Regions from separate parts of the Homo sapiens genome. Here region 2 is linked to region 1. The links are contacts of gene promoters, found by promoter capture Hi-C in blood cells and fetal thymus (Javierre and others, 2016). All regions are on one chromosome and are shown on one strand. The core of a region is centred on a gene start or on the middle of the fragment in contact, and the rest is flanking DNA. Distances in the headings are between cores, read along the strand shown. Region 1 holds the start of RNF223 (ring finger protein 223). Region 2 holds the start of SAMD11 (sterile alpha motif domain containing 11).

Region 1 (3,481 bases), core at 916-3,415:
CAGCTTGGTGCCCTCCAGCCACACAGGCTCCTCACGCCGCAAATGCGCCGGCATCCGGGCCTGCAGCTGGCGGCTGGTGCACAGCGCGGGGGCTCCGGCGGGCGGCACGGCCGTGGGCTGCCTGCAGAAGGGGCAAGGTACAGCCTCACCACCGGGGCGGCCCACAGGCTGAGCAGCCGCCAGCCGGGCCAGGCACTCCAGGCAGAAGACGTGGGTGCAGGAGAGCTCCTTGGGTGTCTTGAAGATGTTGTCATAGCCTGAGAAACAGATGGAGCACTCCAGGGGGGAGGCCACCCTCTCCGAGCCAGGGGTGCCAGGGGACCTGGGGCTGCCGGCCGAGCTGGGGGACCTGGGCATCGAGGCTATGGAGCTGCTCCGGCGAGGGGGTGGCACAGCCGTGTGCCACACCTGCTGGCCTGACGACATGTCTCTGAGCTGTGGGACAGGGACTGTGGTAAGCAATCACCGGCCGCCCCTTTCTGGTGGTGTTTTATCTCTCCCTCCCCTCTCTCGCCCCAGAGATCCCAGGGAAGGACTCTGTTTCCTGCGCGCCACTCCAGAAAGTTCCTCCGGTGCCCCTGGAGGTCATTCTGCCCCACGTGCAATCCTGTCCTCTCCACCCCATCACATGGCTGCACCGGGGTGAGCCTCCCACAGGGCCCCAGGCCTGCTCCGGGAATGCAGGCCGTGTGTAGGGGGGTCTCACTGACCGCTCGGCAGACACCTCCTGTTGGCCCTGCCCCACCTGGCTGGCCCTGCTGCCCGGGCAGAAATAATGGTGAGGATGACAATAGCCACAGTCGTCACTGTTTATGTCGGAGCTCTGCAAGGCTGGGCCCACATCACGGGACTCACACAACGCCACAGTGTGGAAAAGGCCGCCCAGAGCATGGGTGACTCGGCCAGGGCCACCCCAAGGGAGCTGGCGGGCCCTGGACCCTGGCAGATACGGCTCTCAGGCAGGCCAGGGACTCCAAGTCAAGTGAAGTGAGTTTGAACTCAGATCCCAGGATGGGTGCCTGGCTTGGGCGGTGCAGGCCTGATTTGTAGGCAGCTATGTGAGGGTGGGGTGTGGGGGTCTCTGGGTCTGGGGACCGGGCTGAGCCCCGGGGGCTTTGGGACGACAGGGAGGGCCCAGGCAGGGGCAGGGGTCAGTGCCCGAGGAAGGTGCACGTCAGGCACGACCTGCGGCCTGCGGGGCCGGCTTGTCTAGCTGCTGAGGGTCTGATGTGCACAGTGTGGGGGTGGGACTTGGATAAGCCCAGCCATTCCCTCTGGGCCAGCCCACTGCCTCATGGTCAGGTGATGGTCAGGGCACCCTCAGCCGCCCACTGAGTGGGTGTTTCTTCTCCCTGACCCAATCCCACTTCATGGCAGGGACCCTGGGGGACGGACACTGGGGGATGCTGCTCTGCCCCTGGGCATGGCTCAGGTGGGCATCTCAGCTGACCTGGGACCCTGCTCCACCTCCCGCCCCTCCCCTGCACCCAGGATCCGCTGCAGGGAGCCACAGGGGTCCCACCTGGAGGGAAGTGGGCAAGGGTGACAGTGAGACTCAAGGGCCTGGCCGTGCGTCCCCGTGGGGCCCAGGAGGCTGCCCCAGAAGTGACTCCTGGCACTGCCCCGCCCCACCCCTGACTTGCCAGTGAGTCCCAGACAGGCTGGCGGGATGACACAGGTCACTGTGACCACCTGAGTCACACGCCGTCACTGTGAGGCCGTGAGTGCCCCAGGCACCGGGACCTGGGGACTGTGCTCTGCGGCCTGTGTACCCCACAGAACCGGTTCCTTGGCACGAGGCCCCACCCCTCCACGATGGTGCCCCACCCTGAGCCTGTGCAGGTAAGGGGTGAACACGGGCTGAGCTGGCCTTACCTGGTGGCCGGGGGTCAGCGGGCCTGGGCGTGGTCCTCCTCGCCGGCCACGGTTGGGCTCCAAGGCCCTGGGCTGCCCTGCCGTGGCAGTGTCTGCTTCCTCTTCTCCGGGCCCGGCCCGGCCTGTGCTTCACCCAGCAGGTATCCCTCCCCGGGGCCGGCCACCAGCAGCTGTCCCGGTGGCACTGGTCTGGCAGGTGTGGCTTCTGCTCTGTCCAAGACAGGCGGGGACACAAGGAATGCGTGCGCCGTCACCCGCACAGAGCTCTGGTCTGAGGCAGGTGTGAGTTGCTGGGTGTGGGCTCCCAAGCAGGTCTATTTATACCCTATGGGCCAAGGGTGTGGCCGCAAGCCTCAGGGATTGGCTGGCTTCATCCTCTCCTTGGCGGGCCAGGCAGCTGGAGGGCAGGGAGGGAGGGGTGAGGGTCGGAGCCGGGTAGGGGTCAGCACAGCCGCTGCAGCCTGGGCAGGTCTGGGCTGGGGTGTGTGCTTGGACAAAGCCCTCTCTCCCTATAGCCCCAGGAGGCTGGAGCACCTGCTGGAAGCTGCTCACCGCAGTTCCAGGTCCCTGTGGCCCCTGAGCTCCTGGGTGGGCCTCCTAGCAGGGGCCCTCCCCGAGCCCCCCACAACCTATGCCCAGCCTGCCCCTGCCCTTTGCTCACTGCTGCCTGCCCTCACAGCCCATTCCTGCCACTTCCCTGCCCACACCCACCCATGTGCTCACCTGCCTCATCCATACACATACGTGGCTGCTCTCACACATGGGCCATGTGTTCACACGCTCTATGCCCCCGTGTCCACAGGCTCTCACACACGTGCCGTGTCCGGAAGCTCACATATGCCATGTCCACACTCACACACGCCGTGTCCACACTCACACGCCGTGTCCACACTCTCACACACATGCCATGTCCACATGCTCTCACACACGTGCCCTGTGTCCACACACACACACATGCCATGTCCACATGCCCTAGCAGACTACAGGACTGGTCTGTGCAAAGACCAGGGCTGGAGCTGGTTGAGAGTCTGGGGGCTGAGGCTGGCAGGGCTGGGATGGAGGATGTGTGGGTCTCAGAGGAGCAGCCAGTGGCATGGGCTGCCCCGTCCCCCGCACACCCCGCTGTGGGCCCGAGGGCCTGGTGTAGAGCTGCACCCCCAGGCTGTCCAGCTGCCAGCTCCCCACCTCACTGAGGCGTCTCTCTCCCAGCCCAGTGGACCTCATGCAAGGGGAGGTCCGACCCGGCTGCCACAGCCCCATCCCCGCCATGAGGCCTGGGCCGGACCTGAGCTGGGACTCCACACACCAGCCTGGGGGGGTGCCACACTGGGTGGGGCTGGGAGTGAGGGACCCACCCTAGTGGGAGAGCTGGCCGGGCCACCCCACAGACTGCCCTCAGGCAACTCCCATGCAGGTGCCCGCCGACCCCTCAGTAGGGACCCAGAGGCTCCCCCAGGGCTGCCGCGGGCATCCTGGAGCCCAAGGGATGCTGGGAAGTGGGAACCAGGACTGCAGAGGCCAGGGGGCAACACCCCGAGGAGGAGCACAGGGACTTGGGCTCAGGAAGGGCCGGACCCCTGCCAGTTCCATGAGGACTCTCAGTCGG
Region 2 (3,507 bases), core at 622-3,121, 150 kb before region 1:
CAGCCCCATGCCCCTCCTTAACCACACTGTGGGCCTGAGCATGATGAGATGCTGGTGAACAGGGGAGGGCTCTTGGAAGGGAAAGGAGGCCCCTCTGCTGGCCCAGGTCAGAGGAGAGGCCTGGCCCAAGGGCCTCAGACCCTGAGAGGCACTGCCATGCAGACCTGCGCCTCCCCAGCCTCCCTCTCCAAATCACTGTGTGAACATCAGGGAGTCAGGTGCAGGCGAACCTAGAAGGAGGGTCAGGTGCAGGTGAACCTAGTAGCCCACACACGGGCAGTAGGGTCAGGGCTGCATCCAGACAGTGGGCACTCAGGGCCAGTCCACATGGCCTCCAGCTGGCCCCAGGAGCAGACTTTCCACATGGTATCAGACCTGGGAGAAGACACAGACTTCAGGAGAGGAAGGCACAGGAACTCACTGGCAGCCACAGCTGGGGTCAGGGATGTGCTGGTGTCCTGGATGCAGACAGGTTGATAGGGCCAAGGGTGGCCACATAAGGAAGGGTCACCGACACTCACACCCACACTCCTACCTGGCCCCCCAGACCCCAACAGACCAACGAGCCCCCACAGAACAGGGCCAGGATAGCGGGGGAGGCTTCTGGGCATGTTCCTTGCCTGAGCAGAGCACTCCTGGCCCAGACCTCACTCCGCGGGTTGGCTGTGGGACCAGCAGAAGCCTCTGGTGAGATAAGGTGAAGGAGCCCAGCGTGGTCACCCAGGGTCAGGTTTATGCTCAAGGAAGCTGGTCTGGCAGGAGGTGGTGGTGGGCTGTTCCCTCCCTCGAAGAAGGCACCTGTGCAAACAGGCCTGTGGCCCACTCACCCCTGGACCTGCTCTGGGAGATGCCCACAGGGACATGCCAGCTGCATCTCAAGGGCAGGGGCCAGGGTCAGAACAGGAGGCCCCTTTCTAGTGGATGCAACACCGCACAGCAGCGCAGGACAAGGCTGTCTCACCTGCTGTTACCAACGCCCCCAGGTTGTGTTTCTCTTCGGAACGCTCCAGATGCAATGCCGATCTGGGCACGCAGGGAGGTGGGGGGTGATGGGAAGCTCACCAGGAACCAGGGACTGGGGCCCAGACTGACCTGTCAGAAGGCACCAAGGTGGACGTGGTGTGGCCGGTCCTGCTTCACTAGCCTTGCTCCTCCTAGTGGGAGGCCGTGCACTCTGCCAACCCGCTATCCCCCACCCTCACCCTGCCTCGGATCCACACCACCTTCCTGCTGGGAGGTGTGGGGTGACAGGAAGCTCTTGCCCCACACCATGGTCCTGGCGCGGTCCTGGTGTGAGACATCCTGCATTTGAAACAGCTGTGTGACTTCAGGAGAGTTACTTGACCTTTCTGTCTCAGCGTCTTCTGCAAAAGACTGAACAGGAACTCCGTGGCTCGGGCGAACTCACTCCTGTCAAGTGCATAGGAAGGGGCACGAGTGGGCGGGGAGGTGCTGCCCTGTTATTCACAGAACACTTTGCCCAGGCAACACACTACAAATCCACAACCTCGCTCCCTGCAGGTGCACTGAGACCACCCACGCCCTCCCGGACACCAACGCCCACCATCAGATTCGCTGCGCAAAGTCCCAGAGCCGCCGGCGCACGCTCACACCCCGGCGAGCAGCCCCCAGCTCCCTCCCTCCGAGAGGAGCCCGGTCCGCGACCAGCCCAGCCCATCCCAGTCCCGCGCGGAGTCCTGGATTCCAGCCGCTCGCAGTGACTCGGTACTCGGGATAGTGCCGGGGGCCGCAGCCCTGTCCCGCTGCCGCCGCCGGATGCCCCGAGTCGGCCGTCACGCACCCCCCGCGGGAGCCCGCGCCGCCCGCCGCGCCGGGGCCGTTTAAATGGGCCAAGTTGTGGCGGCGGCGTCGGCGGCGGAGTCTCCCAAGTCCCCGCCGGGCGGGCGCGCGCCAGTGGACGCGGGTGCACGACTGACGCGGCCCGGGCGGCGGGGCGGGGGCTTGGGACCCCCGAGAGGGGCGGGGACTCCGCGACTCCTCGCTGCCGGGCTCGGCCTGGCGGGTGGGTCGGCGAGCCGGGCGTGGGACTGCCCCGGGCGCGGGCGCTGGTGGCCGGGGCGCGGGACTCCAGACGCCCCGGGGAGCCCCGAGGCCCTGGAACTGCGGCGCTCGGCGAGTCGATCCGGGATCGATAGCAGCTCCATGTCTCCGGCCTCTGAGGCCCCGCCGGCCGGCTGGGCAGTCCGGGGAGGCCTGGCGGGCGGCGCGTAGGCGGCGGCTGCGGGCGCCGGGGCGCACTAGCGGACGGCGTGGGCGCGCGGCCAGGCGCCTCCCCGGCCCCCGCGACCCAACTCCAGCCCGGGCCGGAATAAGTTGCTGCCGCCGGCGGAGAGCGGGGCTGCGGAGCCACCGGGGCGCCATGCCGGCGGTCAAGAAGGAGTTCCCGGGCCGCGAGGACCTGGCCCTGGCTCTGGCCACGTTCCACCCGACCCTGGCCGCGCTGCCGCTGCCGCCGCTGCCAGGCTACCTGGCGCCACTGCCCGCGGCGGCCGCCCTCCCCCCGGCCGCCTCGCTGCCCGCCTCGGCCGCCGGTTACGAGGCTCTGCTGGCCCCGCCGCTCCGCCCCCCGCGCGCCTACCTCAGCCTGCACGAGGCCGCCCCGCACCTCCACCTGCCCAGGGACCCGCTGGCCCTCGAGCGCTTCTCGGCCACCGCGGCCGCGGCCCCGGATTTCCAGCCGCTGCTGGACAACGGCGAGCCGTGCATCGAGGTGGAGTGCGGCGCCAACCGCGCGCTGCTCTACGTGCGCAAACTCTGCCAGGGCAGCAAGGGCCCGTCCATCCGCCACCGCGGCGAGTGGCTCACGCCCAACGAGTTCCAGTTCGTCAGCGGCCGCGAGACGGCCAAGGACTGGAAGCGCAGCATCCGCCACAAAGGTGCCGCCGCCCCTCCCTTCGCTGCCGGGACCCGCGGGCCCCGACCCCACCCCCTACCCGACTCGGACACCCGGGAGCCTCCGGCTCGGCCGAGGGGGCGCTGCAGCTCCAGGGCTGCGCGGGGACACCCCCGCCGCGCGCGGAGGCCTCGGTGAACACGGACAGATCGCCCCCCGCTGCACCTCCCCCCAGCTTGGGCCACAGCGCTTGGGGCTCGCGGGCCGCTCCCTCCGCTCGGAAGGTCTCTGCGAGGCTCCTGGGCCTTAAGGCCCGAAGGAAGTTTACGGGGACTCGAGAGAGCGGGCAGGAGGCGGGTTGGGAGGGCGCGGAGCCCCGGGTTCGGGGGAGACTGGAGGGGCGCACGTGCGGCCGGGTGCGAGCGCGCGGCGGGGGAGGCTGCGGGGCGGCGCGGGGGCGCGCGCGGAGCCCGAGCGGCGGCGCCAGGTCACACAACCTGTTTTGGCGCCTGCGGGCGCCTGGGCCCAAGGGTGCGACGCGGGGGCGCCTGAGCCGGGACACAGGGGGTGCGGTGAGCGCCAGGCGCCGCGGGGAGTTAAAAAGTTCGGGACCTGAGCGGTGCGTGGTTCCGCGGTGGCCGCCTCTTCCTGCC

The links. Contacts are between HindIII fragments. The CHiCAGO score rates a contact against its expected background, and 5 or more counts as called.
Region 2: a contact is called between the fragment with the promoter of SAMD11 here and the fragment with the promoter of RNF223 in region 1, in 2 of 17 cell types (erythroblasts and neutrophils). The highest score is 8.3, in erythroblasts.

What each region holds. Positions count from the first base shown.
Region 1 is chr1:1,072,141-1,075,621 of GRCh38, forward strand. RNF223 (ring finger protein 223) reads right to left here and starts at 2,166. Exons shown (of 2, transcript NM_001205252.2): 1 at 1,876-2,166; 2 at 1-435. The coding sequence starts at 426. RefSeq lists an enhancer at 1,859-2,358. The HindIII fragment of the contact is 29,142 bases long and covers 1-3,481 here.
Region 2 is chr1:922,052-925,558 of GRCh38, forward strand. It overlaps SAMD11 (sterile alpha motif domain containing 11), which reads left to right and starts at 1,872. Exons shown (of 14, transcript NM_001385641.1): 1 at 1,872-2,897. The coding sequence starts at 2,381. It overlaps LOC107985728 (collagen alpha-1(III) chain-like), which reads right to left. Exons shown (of 5, transcript NR_168405.1): 1 at 3,467-3,507; 2 at 1,224-1,410; 3 at 962-1,092; 4 at 621-684; 5 at 1-458. RefSeq lists enhancers at 917-1,495, 3,161-3,507. The HindIII fragment of the contact is 23,463 bases long and covers 1-3,507 here.